Linked DNA regions of Homo sapiens: region 1 is linked to region 2. The links are contacts of gene promoters, found by promoter capture Hi-C in human tissues and cell types (Jung and others, 2019). All regions are on one chromosome and are shown on one strand. The core of a region is centred on a gene start or on the middle of the fragment in contact, and the rest is flanking DNA. Distances in the headings are between cores, read along the strand shown.

Evidence for each region. The method cuts DNA at HindIII sites, captures the fragments that hold promoters and counts their contacts. A contact is called where the count stands out against the background at its distance.
Region 1: a contact is called between a fragment that was not itself captured here and the fragment with the promoter of EARS2 in region 2, in 1 of the 25 tissues and cell types used here (dorsolateral prefrontal cortex).

What each region holds. Positions count from the first base shown.
Region 1 is chr16:24,551,877-24,556,127 of GRCh38, reverse strand. RBBP6 (RB binding protein 6, ubiquitin ligase) reads right to left here. Exons shown (of 18, transcript NM_006910.5): 4 at 2,571-2,615; 5 at 425-513; 6 at 211-307. Among named protein-coding and RNA genes, the nearest start is that of RBBP6, 14 kb to the right of the region's middle. The HindIII fragment of the contact is 7,515 bases long and covers 1-4,251 here.
Region 2 is chr16:23,554,773-23,559,171 of GRCh38, reverse strand. EARS2 (glutamyl-tRNA synthetase 2, mitochondrial) reads left to right here and starts at 1,822. Exons shown (of 9, transcript NM_001083614.2): 1 at 1,822-1,967. The coding sequence starts at 1,829. It overlaps UBFD1 (ubiquitin family domain containing 1), which reads right to left and starts at 1,445. Exons shown (of 7, transcript NM_019116.3): 1 at 1,405-1,445; 2 at 893-1,222. The coding sequence starts at 1,429. RefSeq lists silencers at 1,023-1,202, 1,303-1,392 and enhancers at 560-1,203, 1,463-1,662, 1,204-1,848, 1,853-2,132, 2,493-3,137. The HindIII fragment of the contact is 16,025 bases long and covers 1-4,399 here.

The sequences.
Region 1 (4,251 bases), core at 1,428-3,927, 1.0 Mb before region 2:
AAAAAACAGGCTTATAGAGATCAAGTAACTTGCCCAAACTCAGCCAAGTGCCAGAACCAAGATTTGAAGCCTGGCAAATTTGGCTCCAGAGACCATGCTCATTTGCCATTGTCTACAGAAGGCAGTATTAACCAAGAAAAATAAGATAGCTAAGGAACAATTCCAAAGGAAAAAAAGTAAGATATACCATAGTTTCTGCTTTGAACTTACCCCATTTGTTGGGCAATTCTTAATATAATGTCCAGGTTTACCACAACGGAAACACGTGTAAGATGGAGGTGGTGGACCTAGAGGTTTCTTCATGTAACTAAAAGGGGGAAAAAAAATTACATGTATACGAGGACTTTGAAAAAATAGTGCTTTTGATTGGGGGGGAAAACCCACCCCAAAAGTTCCTATTAGTATAAAATATTTATGAACTTACTTGATTGGGTCGTATTCATGGCCAGATTGCGACATCATTGCTTTAATTTTATCTTCTTCAGAAGCATTGGCTTCAGCCAGATTGGCAGTCTGTTTAACAGGTAATTATTTGACACACACATTAGAAACACATTTAAGACCACACAGCCAAAGACAACACCACTCATCCTGTAAAGAGCAGTATCTAACTAATCTTGCATAAAAACAGCTATTTACACGTATAACCTGGAAGAGGCACTTGGGAATTCCTTAGGTAATTACATGATGTTTAGGTGTCTGCAAGGCTGAAGAAAGTCATTCTGGGGGCACTCAAACCTTAGACCCTGTTTGTACCTTACATTAAGACTTGCATACTACTTTTCTACAAGTTAAAGACTGATATTAAGTTAGAATAGAAACACTTGATGTTTTAAAAATAATTCAAGTGTCAGAGCATTAAGACTAATTTATACTTACAATGTGGAGGTAGGGATGGGGGTAGAATGACTGAACGTATTATGCAGCAGATATTAGAAGTAGAAGGCTCTTTAGGTAGTGATGTTAGTTTCAACTCAAGTGCAAAAGATGTGCATTGAGCATTATAATTTTAAATTAAACTCTTCAGATAAGTTTTATGAATTTCATCTTTGAGGTATGATATACAAGGTCTAGATGTAAGCAGGGTCTAAGGGAGTGATTTCTAGTTAAGTTGAATCTTCAGGCATTTAGCACTCATATCAGCCATTCATTGGGGTTTGTCTTTACATTCATCCACAAAACAAGCAACCAGTTTTAACATTTTATTGTAATTTTATATACAAAGAATGCTTAACATTAACAGAGCTTAGAACAACAGCAACATTTACAGAAAACTGGATTACAGATGTTTAACAACTAATTTGTTTGAACCCAAACATTGTTTTACAAATACCTGTAGTTTAAAAAAACAAAAAAAAAAAACCAATCCCCCAAACCGCCCCAACTCCTCCCCACAAAGAAACAATGGTAGGAATAGACCAAAAACTCAAATATGGTCCTTACAGTACATAAGAATAAAAACAGTAAACTATAAACTTCTAAGTGTTAACTCTATACTAAACCACTTTGCATTAGAAAATTATAAAATAGGATGGCTTTAGTCCACTTTATGTTTTAGAATAATCAATTTTAATGCTTAGTTTTCCCAGAACAGGAGCTTAAAAAGCAATTTGTTACTAGGACATTTTGTCGGGATACAGTCTAGGGGAAAGGACATAACAAAGCCAAGAACAAGATAGGGACAGCACTAATGGAAAACCCATCTTTTCATTAATCTTGGTTGCTAAATTTGGTTTCACATTTCTGATAGCAGGGAAAAAGGATTTTTGGAAAACTGGACAGCTTCCTTCTTGGCCCTCAAAAGTCTGCCTATTTTTTTTTTTAAAGGCACAATTTGCAAGCTAAATGTATTGCTTTAAAAAGTAATCCATCACTAGTGCTTTCCCAAACAGAAGATACACATTGTTGAGCAGAAAATGCAAGCAATCTTATCGCAAAACATGGCATATACAGTGATTCAGGAGGTAACAATTTGCCCCTCTGCCAAACATACACATTGGTATATTCCTGCAAACAGCTTTACACACTTACACAATTCATGTAGTCTGTGTTCAAACAAATTAGGTTGTTCAAAACTTTTCCTAATGCAGACAGACTACAAGTCTATAGCATAAAGAAACAACTGCATCACATTTAAAATATTGACCTTCATGGGATCAAGTCAAATATTCAAGAAATAACCATGCAATCGTCCGTGTAAAGGAAATCTTCTGTTTTGGCTGCTTAAAAAAGGTCCACATAATTTATAGCCAAAACCAGGAAATTCCTCCAGAACCTTGTTAGTTTCCAATGTATAATTAAACAAAATGTATGAGGGAAAAAAAATAATTAAGTGTAGCTTCAAGTGTTTCTTCTGTCTTGAAGATGAACAATACTCCAATACGCTGAGGCTGACAAAGTATTCCCCTATCTTCTCAAAACAGCAACTACTCTTTACAGGATAGTAATAATATGTACAATGCTTTTGCAAAATATGTCCTCCCCCAACCCCTCTTAAAAAACCGTTCCACATAAAAAAATATGATGTTAGAAAAAAACTTATATTTTCAAGAATATATATATATATATACCTTTGTAAGCTGGGCCAGAGAAATAGACGCGGAAGAGTCATCAATCTGTTCACAAAAAATTAAACACACATTCAAGTTCCAAACTGAAAACATCTTAAAGTGATCATTTAGCCCCTATTGACACCTTAATGTTGAAATATTGGGCATTTTCTTAGTTTTCTAAAGAATGTTAAGCTTGAAAATGTAGCTCAGCCTACTTCATTCTTCTCTAGATATTTCACACAGTTATAAAAAGCTATCAGTTGGAGGGGAGGAAGAGGGGACTCAATTAAAATGAAAAAATGTATCACACAGAAAATCTGTTCAGAGTGTCGACTGAATACTAGGAGTCCCATATCTCCCTATGGTCTCTAAATGTGACAATACTCAAGACAATGTACACTGGAAGAGAGAATAAGAAATCTAATTTTCCTGCAAGGCCATTATACAACATTGTAAAAACAAACAGCCCTTTAAGGGCTCAGATAATTGCTTTAATAAATAACAGCTCCCATATAATTGCTACTTCTTTAATTTTTGAAAACATACTCTTCAGTCTGAGTAAGTTTGTTTATTCTCTCATACAAAGAGTAATAGCTTCTTGTCAAAGAAACCACAGCTTTCTCAGGGCAAAGATGTTAAGTCAAAAAAAGGGAAAACAATGGCACCCTGAGGAGAAGGCCAACAGAGCTGTCACTTATTATGATGGACTCTAATATTTGAAGAAAGTTAATTTAATCACACAGAGCAAGTGTACATAAAGGATATAAGAGGGCTTTAAAAAAGGTATTTTAATGAGCCTTAAGCATTCTGCCCCACTCACTAACTGCCAATTCTCTAACACTGAAGAGGGGGAGATAACTGGGCATATTTGAAGAGGCATCTTTGTGTAAAAGATGTATGGAGTCAGGAGAGAGCCACCTTCATAAACTGTTCTGTGCAAAGAGGAATAAAACATTTCTCTTTCAAAATAAAATAAAAATAAAAATGTATTTTAAATTGAACACTAATTTTTTTCATTTGATCCTCTGAAATGATTTTAATATCAGTTTTTAAAAAAATCTTTAGCAAACAATCTTGAAGATATGATTTCCCTACAGCTTCCTACGTAGTAAGTGGGTTGCTTAGTTAACATGTCGTAAGGTCAGAACTCTTCATTTAAAATGGAGAATGTAACAAGATGTCTGGATCAAAGAAAAAAGTCTTCATCAGGTATTCTGTTCCAGAGAACCAAAAGTTTTAAAATAAAAGCAACATGACTTAAGAGCCCCAAAGACAAATGTAACCAGTCTCAATATGAAGTTCTTAGCCAATGCCCACACAGTAGGGATTCAATAAATGTAAATAAAAAATAATGTTGGCTAAATATAAGACACATCTCACAAATATCTTAGGGTTTTAAAAGTTAATTTGATGGATATTACTGGGATGTTTATTCAGACAAAAGGTTCTTTGCTCCACATTAAGGAACTGACTATAAAAGAGTTCATGATGCACTAACCCTATAACTTAATGCATATCTACATAATTTGCCAATGGGTTATCATTTTTGTCCAGCTTTTAAGTATTTTTTTCCTTTAAGAACTAATCTCAAGTGGTAAGTAGAAAAAAACCTCTAAATAATACATATCTCTTTTTATCTAAAATAAGTTCTGACCTACTCAATCTATTTTAAAGATTTTATACCAACCAGAAGTTACTT
Region 2 (4,399 bases), core at 573-3,072:
AAGTTGTTCCTCAGTCATCTAAATCATTCACATATTAAGTGAGAATCCACAGGCATCAGAGCTACAGAAGCCAATAGGGACAAAACTCCTGTTCTTAATGGAGATTACAAGGCTACATGTAGAAAGCTTTAAAAAAAAAAAAAAGTTCAAGGCCAGGAGTGATGGCTTATGCCTGTAATCCCAGCACTTCGGGAGGCCGAGGTGGGTGGATAAAATAAAAAAAACTAGCCCGGCGGGGTAGCGGGCACCTGTAATCCCAGCTACTCGGGAGGCTGAGGCAGGAGAATCGCTTGAACCTGGGAGGCGGAGGCTGCAGTGAGCCAAGATGGTGCCAGTACACTCCAGCCTGGGCAACAGAGCAAGACTCCGTCTCAAAAAAAAAAAAAAATAGGAAAAAGAAAAGAAATCTCAGATGGCAAAGAGCTATGAACAAGGTAAAATTAAGAAACAGAATCGACTGTGAAGAACCAGCATCAAAGTCAATAGCAGCGTTTCCTAAACTTCACTTAGAAGAATTACCTAAGATATTTGCTAAAAATAAATTCCTGGCTACATCCCAGACCCACTGAATCAGAATCTCCTGGGAAAGGGCCCAGAAGCTGTAAAACAAGCGCCTTAGGTGATTTTTTAATTAGAGATGTTAGAGCAACATCAATGAGAAACTGGGGCCTAAACGTCAGACTTCGGCTTTAATCCCAGCTCTGCAACTTACTAGCTCTATAAACTTGAGTCTCTTTCCCCAGCTGAGTAATGGGCATCCAAGTATCCTTCAGAAGACTGCTGTAAGGATGGGGGGACCTGATGCAAGGAAAGCCACCAGGTGCCTAGTAGGGTGCAAGGGCCATCAGGAGGCGGGGTGGGGAAGACTGGCTGTCAGCGCCACAGGAATTACCTGTAATCGAGTGGATCTTCTGTTTCAGCTCGGAGCCTGTGCTGTCCAGGGGGAACTTCACGTCATGCTTGGTCTTATTCCAGATGATCTTCAAGTCCACCAGCTCCCTGCCCGCGCCGCCGCCCGCGTCTTCGCCGTTGCTGACCGAGGCCTGGGCTGCGGGGTCCCCAGGGGGCTGGGCCGGGGCCGGCTGCAGGCTGCCTCGTGCGGCGCCGGAGTCCTCGGCCGCCGCCCCCGCCGCGGCTTCAGCCTCCAGGCAGTTGACGGGCCGCGCGGGAGCCTCAGTAGCCACAGTCTCGGCCTCCGTGTCCATGCCAGGTTCCTCCATGCCTGCAAGGGGGTTAGGGGGTGGGCGCTCGCCGCGGGCTGGGCTTGGGAACGGACGCTGTCCGGGCGCCGCCGGACCTCCGTTCCCGAGCCGCGGTTCTCCCTCCCGGGCCGGGCCGCATCCCCCAGAGGAGCGACCGCAACCTCAGCCCCGGCCCGGCGCCCGCCACCCCCGCCGCACTCACCATCCGGGGCCCCGGCCGCCGCCATGATGATTGTGTACAACACCCACCGCTCCCGCAGAGGCCGCTGGGAAGAGGCGAGCTGGCTGAGATTGGCCCCCGCAGCAGCCCCTAATCTCTCACAGCCCGGCCGGAAACAGGTGGAGGTTTCTATGGAGACCCGCCTCCTCCGCTCCCAGGTCCGGCCCCTGCCACGCTTTCGCTTTCCCAAGCTGAAGGGGGCGGGTCCGGGAAATAGCCCTTTCTCTGGCCTCTGCCCCCTGGTGGCGAGTGCGGCCGCAGCCGTCCAGGGGGGCGTGGGATTTCGCGCTAGGGGGCCTGTGACTTTAAGGGGCAAGGCTGCGCTGGCTGTGGCGGAGGCCGATTGGCTGGAAGCAGTCCCCGGAAGTGACGCAGGGAGAAGCCCACGTGTGCTATTCCATCCCACATGGCGGCGCTCCTGAGGAGACTGCTGCAGCGCGAGAGGCCTTCGGCGGCCTCTGGCCGCCCCGTAGGACGGCGCGAGGCCAACCTGGGCACTGATGCCGGGGTTGCGGTGCGAGTGCGGTTCGCTCCCAGCCCCACAGGTAACCCTGGCGGACGTGACGCTACAGGCCGAGGCCCCCTGTCCCGTCTCCGCCCCACGAATGTTCCCGAATGAATCCTTTCCGGTGGTGTCAGAGTGGGCGGGCGGAGGAGGGTTAAGGCAGCGCGAGCCCATTTTACAGAGGCGGAAACTGAGGTGCAGGAGCGGAAATAATTCAAATTGCCAGGAGTTTCTTGTGTTTTTTGTGCCATCCCATCTCTTTCGATCTTTTTTTCATGCATTCCATACATGTGCATTGATGACAACCTGTGTAACAGGTGTTGTAGACGCTGGGATACAGTGATCATTGAGAAAGGTAGGGGCCTTGCTCTGTGGAAGTCTGCATTCTAGTGGCTGCCGCAGACACTTATAAAAAATAAGTGTAATTTTAGAGTCACATGTGCCATGCGGGAAGTGAAACAGGATAGGAGACTGGGGATTAAGAAGGACGCTCCAGAAGGCTTTACTGAGCAGGTAACATTTGAGCTGAGATCCAAATGACAAGAAGGAGCACGCTATGTGAAGCCTATAGAAGGAACCTTCTGGAGGCCAGGCGCGGTGGCTCACGCTTGTAATCCCAGCACTTTGGGAGGCAGAGGTGGGTGCATCACTTGAGGTCAAGTGGATCACTTGAGAGCCGTCTGACCAACATGGTGAAGCCCTGTCTCTACTAAAAATACAAAATTATCTGGGCATGGTGGCGCATGCCTGTAATCCCAGCTACTTGGGAGGCTGAGGCAGGAGAATCGCTTGAACGCAGGAGGTGGAGATTGCGGTGAGCCAAGATCGCGCCATTGCACTCCAGCCTGGGCAACAAGAGCGAAACTGTGTCTCAAAAACAAAAAAGAAGGAACCTTCTGGGTAGAGGAAATCGCAGGTACCAAGGCACTGTGCTAGTGCTGTTGGGAGCTTAGCAAGCTAGAGGGTGACAGAGGCCCATTGTATAGCCTGTTGGAGATCTCGTCAGGGCCTTTTGGTTCCCACCAGTAAGGCTACCTTCTACGTTCTCTACACGGAGTATGCCTCTCATCCCAAATCCCAGGATGAACATACAAAGATCTTTGTAGTAAAATCCCAGCTATACATGACAGGATCTTTCTGGCAGGCAGTATAGCCTAGAGCAGTGCCTTTCAAACCATCTGTTGTGGAAGTGCTGGTTTTAAATTTCCAATCAATTGTGTATCAATATTTGCACAAAATTAATATAATGACCAGAAAAATAAAATTTTGAAAACATCCAAAATACAAACCAATCTCATTTTATTTGGGTTAGCAGAGGTAAAATCATTCTGCCAGATTGCTATGTAAGTTTCGCCTGGCCAATATGGCAAAACCTTGTCTCTACTAAAATACAAAAATTAGCCGGGCATGTGGCCCAGGCCTGTAATCCCAGCTACTCAGGAGGCTGAAAATCGTTTGAACCCAGGAGAAAGAGGTTGCAGTGAGCCGAGATCGTGCCACCGCACTGCAGCCCGGGTGACAGAGTGAGACTCCATCTCAAAACAACAACAAAAGTTTCTAAACCTTTACTCTCAGTTTCTGTACTTGATTGTGAACTGACAACTGTTTTCAGACCAGCACTGGATTGCACACTTTGCTTTGAAGAGCACTTATGTAGAATGCCAAAGCCTGGGATTGCCTGGGTCCAAATTTCTGTCGTGGCCACTTATTAGATGTGTAACTTACTAGATGTGCAAATTATTATTGTTATTTTGAGACAGGGTTTGGCTCTGTCTGTCGTCCAGGCTGGAGTGCAGTGGTGCAATCTCGGCTCACTGCAACCTCAGCCTCCGGGGCTCAAGTGATCCTCCCACCTCAACCTCCCGAGTAGCTGGGACTACAAGTGTGTGACCACTACGCCCAGCTAATTTTTGTATTTTCTTGTAGAGATGGGGTTTTGCCATGTTGCCTGGGCGGATCTTGAACTCCTGAGCTCAAGTGATCCACCTGCCTTGGCCTCCGAAAGTGCTGGGATTATAGGTGTGAGCCATCACACCTGGCCTAGATGTGCAAATTATTTAATGAATCTGAGCCTCAGTTTCACCATTTGTCAAAACGGGGCTAATAATAATATCTGTCTTATGGGGTTAAGCTCATGCAGCCGAACCACTTAGTAAGGTCTAGTACACCCAGAAAGCACTTAATACACAGCCTCTATTATGATGATTGTACTTCTCATTTCCTTGCTCATTTGCGGGGAAAGCCCATGTGGGAAAGGCTTTTGACTATAAACAGATAAAAGAATTATCAGGCACAGATCATTACAGTAGCTGAAATTAATTGAGGGTTTACTTTGGTCAGCATTTAGACCTCAGAGCAACCCTATAATAAAGAAGGTTCTTATTTTTTTGCTCTTAATCCCTCTGACAGATGAGGAAATAGAAGCTCATAAAAGTTAAGTAGAGTTCCTTCTCAAGGGGTAGCAACTAATAA